2 separate regions of the Homo sapiens genome follow, and region 1 is linked to region 2. Evidence: promoter capture Hi-C in 16 types of primary human blood cells and fetal thymus (Javierre and others, 2016). All regions are on one chromosome and are shown on one strand. The core of a region is centred on a gene start or on the middle of the fragment in contact, and the rest is flanking DNA. Distances in the headings are between cores, read along the strand shown.

Region 1 (4,337 bases), core at 1,050-3,549, 560 kb after region 2:
ATGGGTTGGGGTTTTGTGGTAGGGCAGCAGGGGCCGGAGACGGGCCCAGAGCTTGGGTGGGGTGTGGGTGGAGAGAAGTGGAGGCACTGGACCGAATCTCCTTGTGCCCTTTCTGTCCCTAAGTGCTCCCTCCCCAGGGGTAGAGCCCTGGGGAGCAGATACTATGATGACAGTCCAGCTGAAGCCTCAGCCCCGCCTGGGATGTGTGAGGGTGGTGGCGAGGCCAAAGGGCTGGTGCCCAGAGGACGTAAACCCCCTTCCTGTTCCCATCCCAGGCCCACAAGGAGCAGGGAGGGAAAAGGCTGCACCTGCCAGTGGAGGATGATGGCTTTGGGGCGCAGGCTCCTCCATGCTGGGAGGAGGTGCCGCAGGTGCCCGAGCCCTCGTGGCTCATGTCCTGATGCGTCCCTCCTTTCCCTTCTCAGTGGTCCACGTCTACTGTACTGAGTGCTTTACATGGCATTTCACTGGGTCCACAGCCTTAAAAAGAGGGAGCAGGTGTCCACATGCTCCAGATGAGACGGAGGGGACCGCTGCTCCTGTCTCGAGGAGGCTTCCACCACCTACCAGCCAGGCGTCCTCGGTAATCCTAGCACCTCTGCCACAGGGCACTAATGCCCAGTTCCTGGGTTGTAAAGGGCTGTGCCCCAGTCCCCCAGCAGGCCCCAGTGAACATACGAGAAAGGATGGAGGCCGCTGTCTGGACACTCAGGACATGGCAGCGTTTTGCTGGGACAGTCATCTGCCCTTCAGGAAAAAGGGTGCAGGTGGGCAGGAGGCCCTTAGATGACGCCAAGGGGAGCCTTCGTGGGCTCCACGTGGTGTGCTCCCTGCCCATCCCTCTGGGCTCAATGCAGTTCCCCAGGTGGTGGTTTGGGTTTTCACTCCAGCCTCAGACTTCCTTCCTCAGCCCCAGCCCCCGGATGTGGTGACAGAATCGATACTGTACCGACCTCAGCTACCCCCAACGGCCGTACACCAGGAAGAGGGGCTCTTCTGGCAGCCCCCATCCTCAGCCAGCCCTGCCATTTCCAGTCCTGCCAGCATCCCAGCCAGACAGGTGGCCCTTCTCTTAGAGCTCAAACCTAGGCCTTGACTTGTCAATCAAAGGGGTGGGTGGGGCAGCTTCCCTCAAGCAACTTCACTCTGGGATCTTGGGCAAGACGTTTTGCTTCTCTGAGGCTTCAGCTTATTCTGTGTAAACTAAATGGTAGCCACTATTTGATTATTAGCTGGGGAGGAGAGATCAAGCCTGACCCCTGTAGCGGCTGGAGTTTTACAGCAGGGCCCACCCAGCACCCAGTAGGTCCTCACAGATACTTGCTGGGTGACTGAATGGGTGTGCCCACCCATCAAAGCCTGAGTGCTGGAGGTGGCCACCCCTTTCCGCGTATTATCAGAGACAACCACCTCTTACTGAACTGCTGCGTTTCCAGGCACCAGTATACCATGGCATCGGCTCCCACCATCCCATGTGGGGTCAGTCCTATTACAGTCCCAACAGATGGAGGGACTGAGGCTCACAGAGAAGCCACTCACCCAAAGTCACATGGAGAGAAAGACACGCACACGTACTCCACATCCCCAGGAGACACACTCTGCATCTATGAAGTGGTATGGGTGTGCTGTCCTCCCTCGGGGCAGCCCCACACTATCCTAAGGCGGGGTTGGGGTGGGCGGGGGGATGGACCCTCCCCACCCATCCAGTTAGCGCCATGCACCTTGCCCACCATCGCTGGAGACAGACCTAAGGCGAGCCCCTTCCTACCCATCTGGAGGCCTCGGTCTTTCCATGTGTTAAATGGGCTGGGGCCGGGGGACGCTCTGCAGCACCCCCTTCCCTGGGCTGGGACGCGGCGGGGAGGGCAGGGGTGACGCTCGGAGAACAGAGAGGCCGAACCCAGAGAGCGGGCCGGGACCTGATACCGATTTCCCACCCGTCCCCTGCCATGGGCGCCGGACGCCTGCCGGAGAGGGCTCCCCTCCTTAAAGGGCCAGTGGCCTCCAAGCCCGACGCCTGCGACCGGCGGTGGGTGATAGTGTTTCCCCTCCCTGTCCAGCCGAGGGAAAAGTTAACTTTCCAGGCTTGGCTGTGTTCAGGGAAGGAACTGGTCTCGCCTGCCTGCCCTCCATCCCTCACACCATCCCTTGTCCCGGACCCTGGAGGCGGAGGTCCAGCCCCCAACTCGGAGGCCCCGGGCCCACCCTCCCCTTCCGCCCCCGGCCCCTCGGCAGGCTCCGCCCCTCTCTGACGTCGCCGAGGCCCGCGCCGATTGGTCGACTGCACTGTCGCTCCGGACACTTCCTCCTGGGCCGCCGCCGCCGCCGCCGACTTAAACTTTGGAGGGGGAAAAAGAGCTACTGGCGCCTGGCGACCCTCCCTGCCCCCCACCCAACCCCGCTCCGGCAACGCCCCCTTCCTCACGGCTCCCGACCGAACTTTTCTCCAACTTCTGCGACTCGTGAGATTCCCTTCTACCCACTCCGGCCCTCGGGACCCCTCTGCCCATCCCCTGGCCGGTCGGGTCCCTGCGAACCCCTTTATCTCTGGAATCCACTCGGTCCCCGACTCAGAGACTCCTGCCCTCCACCCCCAAGGTGAATTCCCCCGGGCCGCCTTCTGAGTGGGATCCTCTTCTTGGAGCACTGGATCCTGGGATTCCCTCTGCCCCCTTCTCAATCCCTCCTCTAGGGAAGGGGCCTTTGAATCGCGGGCTCTCCTGATCCCTGTGACCCCGACCTACTAGATTTCCTCTCAGGCTTCTTGGAATCTCAATCGCTGGGACCTCCAACCCACTACTTTTCTCCTTTCTGATCTTCTGGGAGCCCTGGATTCCGGGCCTCTGACCCACTATAGTGCCTTTCTCTCCTTCCCAGGACCCCGCCATCCTCAGGTCCCCTCCGCCTGCCAGATCTTTTCTCGGATCCCCGCTCTCCCACCACCTGCTCACGAGATCCCGCGGATCTAGAACCCAGGGTCCCCCGGGGCCCCCCGGCCGGGTCCCGGGTGGGCTCCAGGCGGCCGGTCCCCGGCCTCCCCCCATGGCCACCGCCCCCTCTTATCCCGCCGGGCTCCCTGGCTCTCCCGGGCCGGGGTCTCCTCCGCCCCCCGGCGGCCTAGAGCTGCAGTCGCCGCCACCGCTACTGCCCCAGATCCCGGCCCCGGGTTCCGGGGTCTCCTTTCACATCCAGATCGGGCTGACCCGCGAGTTCGTGCTGTTGCCCGCCGCCTCCGAGCTGGCTCATGTGAAGCAGCTGGCCTGTTCCATCGTGGACCAGAAGGTGAGGGCGCAGGCTCCCTGGATCCAGCTCGGGGAGAGGTTGAAGGAGGGGGCGCTGGCAGAGGGGTCTGGGGCCTGGTGTGCGGAAGAGGGAGGAAGGAGACCTGAGCTTTGGGTGATGGAGGGATAGGGGGCATTGCCCCCCTCCATTGCCCCTCTCCCCACCATCCCTTTGAGAGAGGACTGGGCAGGGGTGGGGTGCCCCAGAGGCCTCCCCAAATTTCATGTCCCTGCATGTCGTTGTTTTCTGCAGCAAACAGGGAGGAAGGGAGGGGCCAGCCAGGTGTAGAGAGGGGAGGAAGGGGCAGCAGATGTCGGCGGACCTCCACGTCCAGGCCCATCCCGGGCCTCCCATTTGGTGGAAACAGGAGAAATTGAACCCGGGCTGGCCATGGTGATCCGGTGACATGTGTGGGTGCAGGTGCTTGAGTTAGCTGCCAGGGGCAAGTGAGGTCTCGGAGCCCAATTCTGCCCTCCCCTAAGCCTGAGATATGTGTGGAGGGGCAGGCACTCCTACAGACCCTGGGGACTCTATTCCCTTTCCTAGTCACAGTGCTGTTAGCCTACTCTTAATTTTGGACACCAGGGTCCCCAGGGTGGGCAGCTGGGTGTTATGGCAAGAGGAAACCAGGTGGAACTCCACGTCTAAACCGTGAAATGTTAAAAGAATAGTGGGCTTCTGTGTTGGAGTACTGGACTGTAGAAATGTTAGAATATTAGAATCATAACTTGTTGGAATATGCATCCTAGGCAATTAAATTGCCCCCATGTTCGTGTTCAAATATTAGAATTCTAGGTTTGTGAAATAGTAAAACATTAAAATGCTGGAATATTAGATTCCTAGATTGTTGAATCCTAGAAAGTTAAAATGTTAGAATTTTAGAATGCTGGATGGATGAGGTCCTTGAATGCTAAAGAATTCAAAGAGCACAGTCCTAGCTTGTCAGACTCCTAGAATATTAAAATATTAGATTACCGCTTATTTAGGTTATTGAAATCCTAAAATGTATAGTGATACCAGGTAGGAATCTAGAATGTATAATTCTATAATGTGAG
Region 2 (4,280 bases), core at 164-2,663:
CCCAGAAGCTAGACCTCAGTTTCCCGGCCTTGGTTTCCTAGCAGCGCCCCAGGCCAGAGGCTGCACCAGTCTTCCAAGGCAGCACAGCGCTTTGGTCATTGGCTCTGAGATTTCCAGACAGGCTGAGAAGCAACACCACCGCCGCCGCCATCCACTCTCATCTCTCTGACCCCAGGAAGTGGGCCAGCATCGTTCCCTCTCGGCAGCCAACTGAGATCCCTGGGTGATTCAGCCTCTGTCCCTGACATGATAATTACACCAACAGCAATTCCCAGAACCCCAGCTATTGTCCTATATCACCCCACCCCTCCTCTTGTCTCCTGTGCTGTAACACGAGGGCAGACACTCTGCTTCTCCCCAGAGACATTTGTCCTTTGCTCCAAGCACACAAAAAACTGGGAAGCCCTTCCCACTGTCTGACCTTCAAAGGCCCTGCTGCTGCTAAGCTGCTTCTCCCTACTCCAAGAAAAGAAGAGCTCCTTAAGGAAGGGGAACAGCCCACCCGGGACAAAACAGACAAAGGCCACACCCCAGGAAGGTCTTTCCCACACAAACTTGGGAGGGGAGGCATCTCTGCAGACAACAGGACAGACACAGCACGAGGCAGCCGAGGCTGTCGTTTATTGCAGATGGACACGGATTCAGGGAGGTGAAGAGGCAGATGGGCTGTGGGCTCTGTGCTCAGCATCCCACAGCAGGAGGGGCAGGAGACAGAGCTCAGGATGGGATCTTCCTGATGGTGGAGGACCCGGCCTGACCACAGAGTAGCTGCAAGAGGCAAGGCCCCGAGCTGACACCCCCTGGGCCCCCATTCCGCGGGATGACGGCTCCAGAGACGCTGAGCGATGTCATTAGGAAGAAGGCCGGACCAATCCAGAGACGGTGCATCCTCGGCGTGGAGCACAGAGCTCTCGAGGGCTGGCGATCCGGGTTGGGGTGGAAGGGAGAGTTACCCGGGTCTTCGCCCCTCCGCGGCCTCTGGCGTCTCTCTGGGTGTCTGGCGGCTCGGACGGCGGTCAGGGTCGCTGTAGCGGCGGCGGCGGCTCAGCGGCAGCTGGAGCTGGGGTCGCGGCCCGCCGGGGACTCCCAGGAGGCAGGAGAGGGAGGCAGCGGCGGGCGCCGGGACAGGCGGCACGCCCGGGCGGGCAGCACACGGAGGGGACGGCGCGCTGGGCTGTGGGCCGGCGGGTGCCGCGGGAGACCGCGTGGGTACCCAGATGAGACCGTAGTACACGGCGAGCAGCACGGCAGCTAGCGAGACGCAGAGGAAGTAGGCGCATACCGGAGCCAAGCGCAGCCAGCGCCCCCGCGGGCCCTCGCTCAGCCCCGCGCCTCCGGGGCTCTCGGCGCCGCCGCCCACGCAGCTGGTCCCCCGCATCCCCGCAGCCCACTCGGCTCCGCGCCGCAGACCGCACAGGCCCCGCCCCCACCAGGCCCCGCCCCCACCCCGCAGACCGCCCCGCTCTCTAAACCGCCCGCCTCCGGCCCCGCCCCCGCCAGCATGGTCACGCCCCCACGCGAGCTGCCGCCTCCGCATCCTAGGCCCACCCCCTCCAGCCTCCGCCCCACCACCGACAGGCGGAGGTGCTACCCCGCCCCCCTCGCTCCAGCCCCGCCCCCGCGCTTAGCCCCACCACCCCAATCACCGCCTCCTCCCGCCACAACACGGTTCTCTTCCCAGACTCGGACTTCATCCAGCCCAGGCATCTAGCCCGCCTCGGAGCCCGCCCCCTCGTCCCGCTCAAGCCCTGCCTGGAGCCCTAACCCGCCCTGTGCCGCAGCCAGTCTCACTTCTCTACCTGTCGGACTGCTCTACTCCAGTGCTCGAGCCCTGCCCGCTACGGCCTCTGGCTCCCACACTCTAGTTCCGGAATCCCCGCTCTCCTCCCGCGCGGGTTCCCGCGCGACACCCCGACCACGCCCCCGCTGACGGCCCCGCCCCATGCCCATGGCCAGAGCCCCACCCGCGCGCGCTGACCCCGCCCCCCGCTCTAACTCCGCCTGTCAGGATTCCGGCCCCGCCCAGGCAGCCTAGCTCCGCCCCCGCGGGACCCGCCTCCTCCAGCACACTCTCAGCCCGCTTTCAGGTATCCTCAGCACCTCAGGCCCCGAGGTTCCAGCTCCGCCCCTCACCGCAATCGCGCCCCTTCTCCCAGCTCCTCCCCAACGGTCAGCTTTTCCCTCTCCCTAGAGCCAAGGGGTCCAGACTAGGCTCTGGGGTAGAAAGAACACAGCCTGGAAATCCAGATAAACCCCTCCTCACGCCCCCTCCCCATCAAGGCGGGGAAGCTTCAGTCCCCTCCCAGCAGCGTCTTCAGGAATTCGGGGAGGCCTGCGGGAGGGGGGAGGGAAGACGGATCAGAAGGGTGGAGGAAGACCCCTTCCTTCCGCCTCTTCCGCCACAGAAAAGCCCGCCAAGCACAGCGACCCAGCCTGCCCCCTCCAGAAACACAGTTCAAGGGTGAGCGGAAGCACTGCGTTTAATACGACAGGGCTGGCGCCCGAGTAATTCAAGCCCTTCGGAAGTGTCACCGGCTGCCAGGCCTCGGATGCAATCCTGGAGGCGGGAGATTCGGCCTGAAGACTGGCTCGAGCCGCCCAGGGCCTCCATGGGAGACTAACGCGGAAGCGTCCCAGCCGTCCCAGTGCCGTGACGTCCCCCGTTGGTGGGGCCTGCACCCGACTACTGCCCTGGCCCCGCCCGGCTCGCAGACCCTGGCTCCTCCCCCCTTAGATTTAACCCTCTCCTGGCTGGAGTGTGGCAGAAGCAGAGGACAGAGGAGCGAGGCGGTGGGAGGTTAGTGCAGAGCGCGGAGGCCGCGGTCCGGCGGGCGCGGTCAGCGAGCGGCCCCCGGCAGCGGAGGGGCCGCCACCACCTTGCAGAAACGCACCCTCTGGAAGTCGGTGATCTCCGCCGTCTCCTGGCCTTCGGGGCCTGCCTCTGAGGAGAGAAGGGGCTGAGTCAGCGGAGGGGAGCAGTCTTCCCACCTCCCCCCCGGCCCAGCACCCCTCCCCCGTCTAGCCACGTCTCTCATCCAGTTCGAGCCCTTGCCACAGCAGGCTCGGCGCTAAGCGGTTTACGGGGCCCAGACTAATCCTCTCAGCGGACCCACGCAGCAGCAAACACTCCCAACATAACCGTTTACAATCGAGGAAACGCGGGTGTGGCGAGATCTGGCTCCCGACCAACAAGTGGCCCAAGACAGAGGGTCTGGGCCCCCGCGCCACCCAAGGCTGCAAACTGTCCTCTCCCACCCCCGCCCCATCTCACGGCCTTCATCAACCTCCACCAAGCCAGTCCTAGAGGACCCGCCCTCCCCTTTCCTTCGCCAACGCCTGCTATTCTAACCAGTCCTTCCTTGGCTCTGCCCCCAAAATCCTAATCCCACTCTGGGGGAAGGGGAGGCCATCTGAGATTCGAAATCTTACTCCTACGGAGTGTAGGTGGAGAGGGGCTTGGCCTCTTGCTCGCACTTCGTCGGTCCCAAAATGCTGATCGGGTACGCATGTCTATTCTAATTTGCCCCACTAGGTTGCACCTCGGAACTCTAATCCCAGCCACAGTTAAATCCAGTTTTCTGCCCTTGCCCATCTCTTTGGCCTTTTCGAGCCAGTTCAAATTTCGTAGTCTGCCTATAGCTCCTGCCCTAGTACACCAACGCCAACCACCTTTTTTGAGACGGAGTCTTGCTCTGTCGCCCAGGTGGGAGTACAGTGGAGCGATCTCGGCTCACTGCAGCCTCCGCCTCCCAGGTTCAAGCGATCCTCCCGCCTCCCAATTAGCTGGGATTACAGGCATGAGCCAAGGCATCCGATCCACACCCCATTACTCTTAAACCAGTGCTTTCCAAAACCCCTGAGCTCGACTCCAAAATTCTAATCCTTTCCTTAACCCCACCTCCTCAACCTCCATACCAAATTCCTATTGGCTTGGCCCATAAAGTTGCCCCTTTGCCCCACCCCTGCCACCCGGCTCCAGCCCCCCATCCCTATCCGAGCTCACCCTTTTCACCTCACCTCTATGGTCCAACTGCTACCTACACACATTCACCCCACTCCCCCCAAGCCCTCTGCCCCTCAGCCCCAGAGAAAGAGGAAGCAGCGGCCTCCATCCCATGCCCCATGCACTCCCCCACCTGGAGTTGCCTCAGACCCTTCCTCTTCAGCTTCCTGGGTTCCTCGGAGGCTGGGCCCACTCTCCGGGAAGGCAGGGGCTGACTGGCCACCTCCTAGGGAAGGGGAGCCCCAGTCAAGCCCCCTTTCCCGCCTGACATCTCCCC

Evidence for each region. The method cuts DNA at HindIII sites, captures the fragments that hold promoters and counts their contacts. A CHiCAGO score of 5 or more calls a contact.
Region 1: a contact is called between the fragment with the promoter of PRKD2 here and the fragment with the promoter of INAFM1 in region 2, in 4 of 17 cell types (fetal thymus, total CD8 T cells, neutrophils and 1 more). The highest score is 7.3, in fetal thymus.

What each region holds. Positions count from the first base shown.
Region 1 is chr19:46,715,076-46,719,412 of GRCh38, reverse strand. It overlaps PRKD2 (protein kinase D2), which reads left to right and starts at 2,299. Exons shown (of 18, transcript NM_016457.5): 1 at 2,299-3,282. The coding sequence starts at 3,043. It overlaps LOC107987269, which reads left to right. Exons shown (of 4, transcript XM_017027568.2): 1 at 1-767; 2 at 911-1,060; 3 at 1,437-1,614; 4 at 2,236-2,879. The coding sequence starts at 350. The coding sequence ends at 2,602. RefSeq lists an enhancer at 1,004-1,053 and silencers at 2,174-2,333, 2,354-2,403. The HindIII fragment of the contact is 18,729 bases long and covers 1-4,337 here.
Region 2 is chr19:47,272,018-47,276,297 of GRCh38, reverse strand. INAFM1 (InaF motif containing 1) reads right to left here and starts at 1,413. Exons shown (of 1, transcript NM_178511.6): 1 at 575-1,413. The coding sequence starts at 1,378. The coding sequence ends at 950. It also overlaps a transcript of CCDC9 not described here. RefSeq lists silencers at 1,042-1,491, 1,852-2,111, 2,722-3,031. The HindIII fragment of the contact is 4,952 bases long and covers 1-2,291 here.